2 separate regions of the Homo sapiens genome follow, and region 2 is linked to region 1. The links are contacts of gene promoters, found by promoter capture Hi-C in blood cells and fetal thymus (Javierre and others, 2016). All regions are on one chromosome and are shown on one strand. Each heading gives the region's core, a stretch centred on a gene start or on the middle of the fragment in contact. The rest is flanking DNA. Distances are from core to core; before and after follow the strand shown.

Region 1 (6,891 bases), core at 1,764-4,263:
TTTTATTTATTTAATATTTTTAAGACAGGGTCTCACTCTGTTTCCCAGGCCAGAGCATAGGAGCACAATCATAGCTCACTGCAGCCTCAATCTCCCTGGCTCAAGCACTCCAGCTGCCTCAGCCTCCTGAGTAGCTGGGACTACAGGTGCATGCCACCATACCCAGCTAATTCTTTTTTTTTTTTTTTTTGAGACAGAGTCTCAATCTGTTGCCCAGGCTGGAGTGCAGTGGTGCCATCTCGGCTCACTGCAAGCTCCGCCTCCCAGGTTCATGCCATTCTCCTGCCTCAGCCTCCCAAGTAGCTGGGACTACAGGTGCTCGCCACCACGCCCGGCTAATTTTTTGTATTTTTAGTAGAGATGGGGACCATGTTAGCCGGGATGATCTTGATCTCCTGACCTCATAATCCACCCGCCTCGGCCTCCCAAAGTGCTGGGATTACAGGTGTGAGCCACCACGCTCGGCCGCTAATTCTTTAAAATTTTTAGTAGACATTAAGTATCACTATGTTGCCTAGGCTGGTCTTGAACTCCTGGGCTCAAGCGATCCTCCTGCCTTGGCCACCCAAAGTGCTGGGATTACAAGCGTTAGCCACTGCACCTGGTCTGATAACCCCATCTTTATACTGTTGAACAATTTGGAAATTCCTAAGGCTTTATTTTATTTTACTTTGGAAAACGAAGACCCTTCATTTAACCTGCCTTGCACCAGGCATGCTGAAAGTATACTGGTGGACAAACCAGACTGAAATCCTTGCCTTCATGATGCTTTAACCGGGGGAGTGCCGGGCAGATTGACAGATGATAGATAAATGAAATATACAGTATGCTAAAGAACAAAGTTGAGAAAGGGGGTAAAGACTGCAATGGGGACAGGATGTTACCATCTTAAACCGAGTGGGCAGGGAAATCTTCACAGAGAAAGGGATATCTGAGTATAGAACTGAAGGTGAAGGAGGAAGCCAGGCCATTATCAGGGACAAGTGTTCAGGCAGATGGAATAGCTAGCGCAAATGCCCTGAAGCAGGAGTGCCTGGTATGTTCAAGAAATATTTAGGCATGGAAGCTACTGTGGCAGCAGCAAAGTGGGTAAGAAGGTGAATAGTAGAACTGAGGCCATCTGAATCATGTAGGGCCTTGAAAACCACTGGAAAGAAAGGACTTTGTCTTTTGCTAGGAGTGAGATGAGAAGCCACTGGAGGATTCTGAATAGAGGAGTGACATGACTTGACTTGTTTTAACAGTATCACTATGGATGCTGTGTTGAGAGTACACTCCAGAAGGCAAGAGGTAAAACAGGAAGACTGGCTAGGCCATTGAAATAATCCAATGGATCACTGAGATCTTGAGAAGAGGTCAAATGCTAGACAGGTATTTAAAATTTTTATTATAGAATTTTTCAAACATAATAAAAAGTAGAAAGAATAGCATTATGAACCCTTGTGTACCCACATCCAGCTTCTACACTTATCGATTTATGGCCAAACTTGTTTCATTTATACTCCCCATACTATTTCCTCTGCCAATAGAGTCCTCTGAAGTAAACCCCAGACATCTGATCATTTTATCTATCTATACCTCATTCTCCACCCCTCCAGCTTAGCCTTGGGGAGCAGCAGACTGAAGAGTGTTTCAGATGCGTTAAAAATCCAGGTAGAGACGTTAAGAGGGCAAGCAAGGCACACAGGGTATGTACAGACTGGAGACAAGGGAATGCGGTGGAAACCCAGGGTCTTCTAATAGGGCACTCCGACCTTAGAGGATTAACTGTGATGGCCCCAGCAGGGTGCCCAATGCAAAGCGGCTCTGTATATTATAACAATCAGTTATTTTTGTACCTTTCTCTTTCTTTCTCTAAAAAAGTGTAAGTTCTAGAAATGCTATTACGACTCTAGTTTTTGAAACACATTCCTAAGAAATGTAGAAGCAAAAGCACAACAAATGATTTTAGCAAGTTTTACACAGCATTTACAGGATACGCTATGCTTAATTCAACTCACTGGTAAAAATACGATTCACTGTAATGGATTTAACTCTTCACCTGTGAAGTGGCTTATTTGAATCAAACCACCCTATCCATTTTTAAAGAAAAAACAAGCAATTATTAAAGAGTTGTGGAAAAGCAAGATAATGTGATTTTTAGAAGGGAATGGTTAGCTGTATTTCATTACATCTTAAATATCTGGATACCCCTAATGTCTTTCAAGATGTCACTGAGAGTTCGTTCTGGTCCCGCAGGTCGCGGCAGCGTGTGTCTTTGTCCTGCTCAGGCCCCGGACCCTTACTCCACTCTTGGACACTCATCTTGGAAAGCCGCGGCAATGGCAGGAGAAATGGCTGCCCCAGCAAAGTGTCACAGGAATCATGCCTGGTCACCTTTACACAAACAGAACCACCGGTTTACCTGGCTTAAAAGTTTTGCTGGACCCAAGAAACGGGTAGATTTCGGATACTTCTGCGCTTCCGAGGGGTCGGGAAAGGCTCTGCGGTTCTAACTAACCCACGACTGCCCGGGGGTACCGAGCATTTTAGCTGTGGGGTCTCCCCCGCGCCAGCCTCTGGGCGCCCGGTCCCACAAATCTCATTGTGTCCTCGGTTCTGCCCGCGCCGGCTAGGCGTTCGTCTTCGCGTTTCTGGCTGAAACCCACTGTCTTTGGAGATTCCGACCCAACGAGGCCGAAACTAAGCCGGGAGACCTCCCAGGTAAGGAGCACCGAGATCGCCCCGAGGTGCGCGCCCCGCCCCGCGCCCGGAAGGACGGCGGCTCGGCCGCACCTGCGTCCGCAGAGCGAAACCTGGCGGGACGCGGGCCTCCCCGGATCCCTGGCTCCGGCCTCCCCCGCGGGCTATGGCAGGCTGAGCGCCGAGCGCGGGCAGCCGTCCGTCGCAGCACACCTGGGCCGGGGGCCGCCGGGCCCTCCTCTCCCGGTCACGTGGCCCCACCCCGGTCCCACTTACCTGCGCAGCCGCCAGGAAGAGCGCGCACGCTGCCCAGGACTCTGAAACCGGTATCGGGCTCCCGGGGTGGGGGCGGGGCCGGGACGGGACGAGCCCAGCTTTCCCCGCCCGGCTTTGCCCCGCCCGGATCTGTCGGCCCGACAACCGCTCTGGGCCCAGGCTGCTCGGTGCCACCAGCCGGCACGTCGCGGCAATGACCACACACTGGGCTCTTTTGGAAAGAGTTTACAGTTCTCATCGCAACGTTGCCATCCTCTTCCCTATCTTTTGAAAAGTTTGACACTGGGGGAGGGAGATTGGTGCACTGTGCTTAAGGACCCATGGCAGCGAGTGCGTGCTAGATAATGTTAAAAGACAGGAGAAACAAAATTAAATTCAACATTTTAATTGTGATATAACTTATGTAAATACTTTCCAAAAAGTATCTAAGATATTCCACTGTACAACACATCAAAACTATCTGAGAAGCGGGAGACAATAAAGTGTAAATAAGGCACACAGTTTACACTCGTAATTGCATCCTAAACTGTTGAATAGTTGATATTTACAACCCCCCAATAACGTTTTTGCATCCTGAATTAGTCCTTCACATCTTGATATTTGGCATAATGTTCAAACACACTTTATACACACTGACCGCTCCTTAAACCACTCACAGATTTAATAAATACCGAAAAAATTAAGAGATTTGAAGGCTTGATCTTCTATTTACTTCAAGATGACAGAAGAGTAGGTTTCTTGTGATGAAATACTACAAGAATGAAGAATTAACAAACTGTTGTGTAATTCATCAGAAAAGCATATTAACTCTGCTGAAGTACCACTGAATGAAACAAAAATGAAGCTGTGAAGTAGCAATCTGATTAGCAGGCTGGCTTCTATGTCCCATCACTCTCGTAGTCTTCTATTATTATGTTTTCTTCCATGTCTCCTTGGGCTGAAAAGGGCTGGGGCTGGCTAGCAGGCAGTTCACTGGCACTATTCTGACTCAAAGGAAGAGACCAGGTTTCCGGCACAGTGGCTTGAGTGGGTTCACCCAGAGATTCCTCTGCAGAATGTCCTCCATTAAGCTGGGCTTCATCTCCGCTGTCAGGGTCTATCATTCCATGTTCCCTGTCAGTCAGGGCTTCCATTTTCAATCTGTCAGATTCACAGTGCAGGCATTAATAAGAACCAAAGGAGAAGATTTTTAAATTACACCATGAGTGTGATGATTATGAAGCCATCTTTCATTTACCTACATTGTGCTGTTTAGCTAGTCCCTTTAACTATAAAAACAAAACTACAAGGTAAATGACAAACTGAATAAGTTCCTACAACTTAAAATACAAAAAGGAGCTGAACACGATGGCTCATGCCTGTACTATCTGCACTGTGGGAGGCCAAGGCAGGCAGATCACTTGAGGCCAGGAGTTCAAGACCAGCCTGGCCAACATGGCAAAAACCCATCTCTATTGAAAATAGAAAAATTAGCCAGGCGTGGTGGCACGCATCTGTAATCCCAGCTACTCAGGAGGCTGAGGCAGGAGAATTGTTTGAACCCAGGAGGCAGAAGCTGCAGTGAGCCAAGCTCGTGCCACTGAACTCCAGCCTGTACGACAGAGCAAGACTCTGTCTCCAAACAAAAAACAAACAAACAAAAAAACCAAACCAAACCACAACAACAAAAACACCTAAAAATAAAAAGAAATAATGTCTTCAGTAAAGAATTTTTCTTTTTTCTTTTTTTTCATTGAGACTGTCTTTCTCTATCGCCCAGGCAGGAGTGCAGTGGTGCAATCTCAGTTTACTGCAACCTCTGCCTCCCAGGTTCAAGCGATTCTCCTGCCTCAGCCTCCCAAGTAGCTGGGATTACAGGCACATGCCATCATGCCCAACTAATTTGTATTTTTAGTAGAGATGGGGTTTCACCATGTTGGCCAGGGTAATCTTGAACTCCCGAACTCAGGTGATCCATCTGCCTCCGCCTCCCAAAGTGCGGGGATTACAAGTGTGAGCCACCACACCCAGCCTTCAGTAAAGAATTTTTACAAATTAAAAAGGAAAAAATGAAATAGAAAAATGGGCACAAACATGGACAACTTATAAAACAAATACAAATGGTTCCTAAATTGTTAAATCTAATTTGTAATTTTAAAAATGAAAATTAACATAATGAGCTACTACTGTCATCTTTTTTTTTTTTTGAGACAGTCTTGCTCTGTCACCCAGGCTACAGGGCAGTAGCACGATCTTGGCTCACTGCAACCTCCACTTCAGGTTCAAGCGATTCTCCTGTCTCAGCCTCTGGAGTAGCAGGGATTACACGCGGGCACCACCACACCCAGCTAGTTTTTGTATTTTTAGCAGAGATAGGGTTTCACCATGTTGGCCAGGCTGGTCTCGAACTCCTGACCTTAGATGATCCACCCACCTCAGCCTCCCAAAGTGCTGGGATTACAAGCATGAGCCACTGCGCCTGGCCTATTACTGTCATCTTCTAAACTGGCAAAGATACTTTTAAAACCCAGTGGTGGCAAGGGTTAGGAGAAAAGAACATACTGATACACTGTAAGTGGATACAAAACTGGCAAAATATTCTTGCCAACAATTTGGCAATAAAGAGGAAAAGCCCCAAAAGGTATATACCTATTGATCCAGCAATTTCATTTGTAGGAATTCACCCTAAGTAAATAGTATTTGAAGTGCATGATGACTTATCTATAAGGCTGGGATAGTAAAAGCTGAAAAAAAGCTAAATGGGCAAAAATAACGTGTAGGTTGAATTACAGGAAATTAAACACCTATTAAATATTAAGTATTAATATTTAATACTAAATACTAAACATATGAACAATGGTTTTAAATATGGTCAACATAAATAAAAGATAGTACCAGTCATTGTAATATATAGCACTGAAAATACTGCCTCTCGTGGCCAGGCGTGGTGGCTCACGCCTGTAATCCCAGCACTTTGGGAGGCCGAAGTGGGCGGATCACGAGGTCAGGAGATCAAGACCATCCTGGCTAACACAGTGAAACCCTGTCTCTACTAAAAATACAAAAAATTAGCTGGGCGTGGTGGCGGGCGCCTGTAGTCCCAGCTACTCGGCAGGCTGAGGCAGGAGAATGGTGTGAGCCCAGAAGGTGGAGCTTGCAGTGAGCCGAGATCGTGCTACTGCACTCCAGCCTGGGCGATAAAGCTAGACTCCGTCTACAAAAAAAAAAGAAAAGAAAATACTGCCTCTCAAGTCACATCAAGTAGGTAGTTGAACCAATAATAAAATAGTGAAGATTCTCATTCAATTTAGCCTTGTGTAAATTGCAGCAACTCAATACATCTCAGGAGCAAAAATACAATAGAACATACTTGTCTTTATTTTGATGCCATAATCTTAGGGGGTTGGGGAGAGAAGCCATCAAAGAGACTTGGTCCTGCTTTCATTCAGAGGGATGTGAGAAGAAAAGCAGTGTTTATGAAATGTGTAAGCCCTGATCACATCCCAGTGGGACGATGCTTCAAGATCCATCCATCATGGTCTTTCTGCGATAGGAAAGATGGGCCCCACATAGCTAAGCCAGTATACAGAAAAAAACATTAACACTACAAAGGCCTTAATGAATCTTGGAGGGTAAAGAGGGGGAAAAAGCTCACATCACAGGAGTTTTCCATTTGGGACCAGAAATAGGAGAAAAGGTAGGAGGAGTCAGAGGTGCCATTTCTATCACTTACTTTTGTCCATGCATTCAGTAAGCAAGATTTTTTTAAATCTTTTTTTTGAGATGGAGTTTTGCTTTTGTTGCCCAGGCTGGGGTGCAATGGTGTGATCTTGGCTCACTGCAACCTCCACCTCCTGGGTTGAAGCGATTCTCCTGCCTCAGCCTCCTGAGTAGCTGGGATTACAGGCATGTGCCACCACACCCAGCTAAATTTTGTATTTTTAGTAGAGACAC
Region 2 (6,803 bases), core at 3,652-6,151, 36 kb before region 1:
GCTAATTTAAAAATTTTTTTCAATTTTTGTAGAGATAAGGTCTTGCTTTGTTGCCCAGGCTGCTCTCTAACTCCTGGCCTCAAGCAATCCTCCCACTTCAGCCTTTCAAAGTGCTGGGATTATAGGCATGAGCCACTGTCCCTGGCCTTGGTATAATTTTAACTTGCATTTTACTTTATATGAGTGAGGCTGAGCACATTTTCTTATGTTTAAAAGCCATTTGAGGCCAGGCACGGTGGCTCACGCTTGTAATCCTAGCACTTCGGGAGGCTGAGGCAGGTGGATCACTTGAGCCCAGGAGTTCAAGACCAGCCTGGACAACACAGTGAGACCCTGTCTCAAAAAAAAAAAAGCCATTGGGGCCGGCAGCATGTGCCTGTGGTCCCAGCAACCAGGGAGGCTGACGTGGGAGGATCACTTGAGCCCAGGAAGTCAAGGGTGCAGTGAGCTGTGATTTTGCCACTGCACTCTAGCCTGGGTGACAGAGCAAGATCTTGTCTCAAAAAAAAAAAAACAACAAATGCTGAGAGTTAACAGCGAGCAGTGAGGAGTGCTGTGCGGGTTGGCCCAGCTGGTTTGGTTTGGTTTGATTGGGGAGGGGTTAGCCAGATGATAAACTCCCCTGGCTTTTTCACTAGGTTTGGCTTGCTGCTGTGTTCCCAATAGCTAGCACAGTGCCTGACATATAGCAGATGGGCAACAAATTTGTTGAAAAAAAATGAATGGAAGGCATCCTGGAGGTAAGTGTTTGAGAGCTGTTTAGGAAGAAAGAACCTGGTCATGAATTGGATGCTGGGGAGAGTGAAGTACATGCATAGGTTTCTGACTGCGAAGAAACCAAGAGTCTATGTTTCTGCACGAATGTTTTATTCATGTGGGTGGGGCTCTGCTGAGCTGGCTTTTACAACTTAAAACCTTTTCACTGGGAGGACAATTCCAAAGTCTAGCAGAAGCAAGCTTCAGGAAGAACAATAGCTCCAACCCCACCCCAGTTTTTCAATTTAAGCGAAAAATTAGCTTCTCTGAGACCTCTCCACCCTCCTCTTTGAATATTTGGATGGGATTAAGACAGTCATTCCGGGAAAAGGGGCATCTCAGAGCCTGGAAGAGAGGAGGCAGAGTCAGCTGCCACAAGCCAGTTGAAAATAAAACAGATTTCACGACAGAAGGAAGAGCATGGTGGCTGAATTTGTTAGGTTATGTCCTTGGAAATTCAGAGATGAAAATCAGAGCCACGGACTCTTCCCTCTTCCTTCTTCCGGGATTAAAAATAATAATAGACTGACCATCCTGGCTAACACGGTGAAAGCCCATCTCTACTTAAAATGCAAAAAATTAGCCGGGCGTAGTGGCGGGCGCCTGTAGTCCCACCTACTCAAGAGGCTGAGGCAGGAGAATGGCGTGAACCCAGGAGGCGGAGCTTGCAGTGAGCCGAGGTCGCGCCACTGCACCCCAGCCTGGGCGACAGAGTGAGACTCCGTCTCAAAAATAAATAAATAAATAAATAAATAAATAAATAAATAAATAAACAAACAAATAAATAAAAATTATAGACCGAATCTAGCACTTCCAACTTCTCTGGTCATGCCTCAAAGTTATATTAAGAGATTAAAGCCACATCTTCCTTTTATTATTGGGCACTGGTCTTAGCTTTCCACAGCTTTTAAAAATTGTTAAAAAAAAAAAAAAAAAAGGAAGGGGCTAGGCACAGTGACTCACACCTATAATCCCAACACTTTGGAAGGCAGAGGCAGGGGGTTACTTGAGCCCAGGAGTTCAAGACCAGTCTGGCTGACATAGGGAGACGGTGTCTTTACAAAAAATTTTTAAAAATTAGCCAGGCATGGTGAGGTGCACCTGTGGTCCCAGCTACTTGGGAGGCTAAGGTGAGAGGATCACTTGAGCCCAGGAGGTTGAGGCTGCAGTGAGCCGTGATTGCACCACTGCACTCCAGCCTGGGTGACAGAACGAGACTTTGTCTCAAAAAAGAAAAAAAGAAAAGAAAAGGAAGTAACATCCCTCCTGGTCTTTTGAACTTGTGGGCCACTCCTCCAATGCACACCACCCTAGCCCCTCAGAAAAGAAAGGTAAGCAACATAACAAAGTTTGGTTTCTTTCTGGTTTTTTTTTTTTTTGAGACAGGGTCTCCCTCTGTCACCCAGGGTGGAGTACAGTGGCATGAACACGGCTCACTGCACCCTGGACCTCCTGGGCTCAAGTGGTCCTCCTGCCTCAGTCTCCCCAGTAGCTGGGCTCACAGGCGTGCGCCACCACACCCAGCTTATTTTTAATGATTTTTTTTTTTTTTTTAGAGGAAGTCTTGCTCTGTCGCCCAGGCTGGAGTGCAGTGGTGCAATGTTGGCTCACTGCAAGCTCCACTTCCCGGGTTCACACCATTCTGCCACCTCAGCCTCTCAAGGAGCTGGGACTACAGGCGCCCGCCACCACGTCTGGCTAATTTTGTTTTTGTTTTTTTTAGTAGAGATGGGGTTTCACCGTGTTAGCCAGGATGGTCTCGATCTCCTGACCTCGTGATCCACCCGCCTCAGCCTCCCAAAGTGCTGGGATTACAGGTGTGAGCCACCAGGCCCGGCCTTAATGATTTTTTTTTTTTTAGAGATGGGTCTTGCCATGTTGCCCAGGCTAGTCTCAAACTTCTAGGCTCAAGTGATCCTCCCACCTCAGCCTCCGAAAGTGTTTATTATTTTATTTAAAGGGCTTATCTGGAGTTGAAATAGCCACAAACAAAAACAAACAAACAAAAACAAGGAAAGAAAGAAAAAGAAAAAAAGCTAAAAGGCTTATTAACTGATTTATTTTGGTAAAATTTTAAGTAGTTTTCCTTCCTCTTATTCGGAATATATGTTGAATTATTATAATGAGATAACTAGATAAAAATAATTTTCTATAACATTAGATATAACCAATCTTTGTGTTGCTGTTTTGAAAAGGTCAGGTTTTGTTAGCATGGTGCTTCAGTTATTTGCGATATTTATGAAACTATCTCAAAATTCAAATGCTTGTATCTTATCTTCTAAAAGCTCAGGGAAACTAGACTGCAAACAGGGCAAAGGTTGCAGCATGAAAGTAAATATTTAGATTGCCTCTTAACTCTGCCAGGTGTAATATTCCTGTAAAATAGTGATACCGAAACCAGCTCTGGAGATGGAAAGTATAATCAGGAGGTTTGTTTTATAATAATTTTAATACCGTTGTCCCAAGTATTTGTTTCTGATAACTACTTTCCTATTTTCTTACTCAATATTTATACCTGAATCCCCATTCTCCCAGTTCTCTGAATGAGCTCTCCCATCATATATTCCTAATTTCATTCACATGTCCCACAACAGTTTCACCAAGTATGTGTTCTATTTTCTTCAGAATCTTTTGACCTAGAGGATCTGTGAATGATTAACTGAAGCACTCCCTACCCACTGCTACAAACCAAAAACACGTGTGAAACCTGTCTCTTCCATTTTCTTTCTTCCTTCCTTCCTTCTTTCCCTTACCTTCCCCTTCCTTCCTTCCTTCCTTCCTTCCTTCCTTCCTTCCTTCCTTCCTTTCTTTTTTTCTCTCTCTCTCTTTCTTTTTTTTTCTTGAGATGGAGTCTCACTCTGTCTCTCAGGCTGGAGTGCAGTGGCATGATCTTGGCTCACTGCAACCTCTGCCTCCCAGGTTCAAGCGATTCTCCTATTTCAGCCTCCCGAGTAGGTGGGATTACAGGCATCTGCCACCACACCCAGCGAATTTTTGTATTTTTAGTTGAGACCAGCGTGACCAACATGGTGAAACCCATGTTGGTCACGCTGGTCTCTAACTCCTGACTTCAGGTGATCCATCCACCTCGGCCTCCCAAAGTGCTGGGATTACAGGCATGAGCCACTGCGCCCAGCTGTTTCTGCCATTTTCTACCCAATTTATGGACACCCAGGTTTGGAGTACAGAGGACAAGTACCAAGCACAAGGCTTGGGTACTGGGTACCCAGAAAACACAGCTGCAGGTCTCAAAGGAGTCTTGGCCTTGTTGCTTGACTTCTATACTTTTAATTTTTTTGTGACCTACTATACTTATCTGGCCAGCCCAACCAGCAGTCCAACAGTAACATCTGTTGACCTAAACTCCACCATCATTAAGCCCCCTATCAGATTATATTATTTTTGTATCCAAAGATAATTTAGCTGAGATTATTTTCTGGCATATATTTTTACAACTCTTCTGATGAACAAACAGATGGATTTAGCCAAGTTCAAAACTAAATCAAATTCAAAATATATAAAGAACTCCTACAACTGAACAACAAAACGACCACAACCCAATTTAAAAATGGGCAATGACCAGCCGGGCATGGTGGCTCACGCCTATAAATCACAGCACTTTGGGAGGCCGAGGCGGGTGGATCACGAGGTCAGGAGATCGAGACCATCCTGGCTAACACGGTGAAACCCCATCTCTACCAAAAATACAAAAAAATTAGCCGGGCATCGTGGCACACACCTGTAGGCCCAGCTACTCAGGAGGCTGAGGCAGGAAAATCATTTGAACCCGGGAGGCGGAGGTTGCAGTGAGCCGAGATCGTGCCACTGCACTCCAGCCTGGGTGACAGAGTGAGGCTCCACCTCAAAAAAAAAAAAAAGGGCAATGGATTTGAATGGCCATTTTTCAAGGAAGATGTACACATGGCCAGTAAGTACGTGAAAAAAATGCTGAACATCACTAATCATTAAGGAAATTCAAACCATAATGAGATACCACTTCACATCTATTAGGATGGCTATTTATTTATTTATTTATTGAGACAGTCTTGCTCTGTCGCCCAGGCTGAAGTGCTGTGGCGCAATCTAGGCTCACTGCAACCTTTGCCTCCCAGGTTCAAGTGATTCTCCTGCCTCAGCCTCCTGAGTAGCTGGGATTACAGGCATGCACCACCATGCCCAGCTAATTTAGTATTTTTAGTAGAGACGAGGTTTCACCGTGTTGGCCAGGCTGGTGTCAAACTCCTGACCTCAAGTGATCCGCGTACCTCGGCCTCCCAAAGTGTTGGGATTACAGGTGTGAGCCACTGTGCCTGGCAGTATGGCTATTTATTAAAAGAGAGAAAGAGAAAATAACAAGTGTTGGCAAGGATGTGGAGAAATTGAAACCCGCATGCATTGCTGGTGGGAATGTCACAAAGAGGAAGAGGAATTTCTACAGTACAGTCATTCAGTACCAATTTCTCCTCTTGAGAATAGGCAGAAATCAAGGAACTGTAGGGAAACAGTGACTCTCTGAAATTGACTCATGAGTTACTCATGGACATTTGGCACATTGACATCAAACACCTACCATAATGTTGTTCTTACAGTATGTAATCTCTCATATTCTCTAATTTCAAACCCTTAGCCCTGAGGGTTTCTTTCTTTTTTTTTTTTTTTTTTCTGAGATGGAGTTTTGCTCTGTCACCCAGGCTGGAGTGCAGTGGCGCGATCTCGGCTCACTGCAAGTTCCACCTCCTGGGTTCACGCCATTCTACTGCCTCAGCCTCCTGAGTAGCTGGGACTACAGGCGCCTGCCACCACGCCTGGCTAATTTTTATTTTTTTTTTTGTATTTTCAGTAGAGACGGGGTTTCACTGTGTTAGCCAGGATGGTCTCGATCTGCTGACCTTGTGATCTGCCCACCTCGGCCTCCCAAAGTGCTCGGATTGCAGGCGTGAGCTACCGCGCCCGGCCAACCCTGAGGGTTTCTAAGAAAATCCTGGATATCACTATAAACTCTAAGAACAGTGGCCGACTGTTTTCACCACATTGCTGCATCTGGGCAGCTATATCACATGGCAGGCACCTTCCAAATACTTGGGAAGCTAGTTCTGAGTAACTTTGTCTTTTAACTTGGCTTTGCCCTTCAGCAATAGCAATCCGCAGAGTACCCTTGAATATTAACACTGGCAGGCTTACTGGTCACAAACAAGATTTAAATTGGGAAGGGCTACTATTGTTCACACATTAACTAACAGCATTTTCCCCACGTGTCATACATCCTTCAGCCTCCTGCCCTATACACAAAGGGAATTCATAGGCATGAATGCAATTATGTTGAATAAAAGCATTTAAACAGGTATAAATCAGGCCCATTCACTTGCAGACTTTTTGTTTTAGAACCACTCATAGGGGAAAAGGGGACGAAATGGTTATATCTACCATCTTAGATGTGGGGTTTGGCTTCAAGTCATACACACACACACACACACACACACACACACACACACACAGGCTTGGGTTTCAAATATGGCTCATGAAGCCAATAGTTGTAAGATTTTTGTTTCTCCAGAACTTTGTAAATGTTTTCCAAAGATCACTAGAACACTACAGGCAGTTCCCAATTTATGAAAGCATTGTATTCTTAAATTTACATTTTTTTGGCCAGGCGCGGTGGCTCACGCCTGTAATCCCAGCACTTTGGGAGGCTGAGGTGAGTGGATGACCTGAGGTCAGGAGTTCGACAACAGCCTGGCCAACATGGTGAAACCTCATCTCTACTAAAAATACAAAAATTATCCAGGTGTGGTGGCTCACACCTGTAATCTCAGCTACTCAGGAGGCTGAGGCAGGAGAATCACTTGAACGCAGGAGGCAGAGGTTGCAGTGGGCCGAGATCACACTACTGCACTCCAGCCCAGGCGAGGGAGTGAGACAGTGTCTCAAAACAACAACAACAACAACAACAACATTACTTAAAAAAAAACTGTGAACATACTTTTGTTCAAACATGTATACAGTATAATTGTTAGAAATTGAGGGCCAAGCACGGTGGCTCACGCCTG

What was found. The method cuts DNA at HindIII sites, captures the fragments that hold promoters and counts their contacts. A CHiCAGO score of 5 or more calls a contact.
Region 2: a contact is called between a fragment that was not itself captured here and the fragment with the promoter of MARVELD2 in region 1, in 1 of 17 cell types (erythroblasts). The highest score is 6.2, in erythroblasts.

What each region holds. Positions count from the first base shown.
Region 1 is chr5:69,411,238-69,418,128 of GRCh38, reverse strand. MARVELD2 (MARVEL domain containing 2) reads right to left here and starts at 3,013. Exons shown (of 7, transcript NM_001038603.3): 1 at 2,959-3,013. RAD17 (RAD17 checkpoint clamp loader component) reads right to left here. Exons shown (of 19, transcript NM_133338.3): 19 at 3,328-4,098. The coding sequence ends at 3,837. RefSeq lists enhancers at 1,470-2,352, 2,353-3,236. The HindIII fragment of the contact is 19,290 bases long and covers 1-6,891 here.
Region 2 is chr5:69,448,774-69,455,576 of GRCh38, reverse strand. No RefSeq gene overlaps it. Among named protein-coding and RNA genes, the nearest start is that of MARVELD2, 37 kb to the right of the region's middle. The HindIII fragment of the contact is 7,883 bases long and covers 960-6,803 here.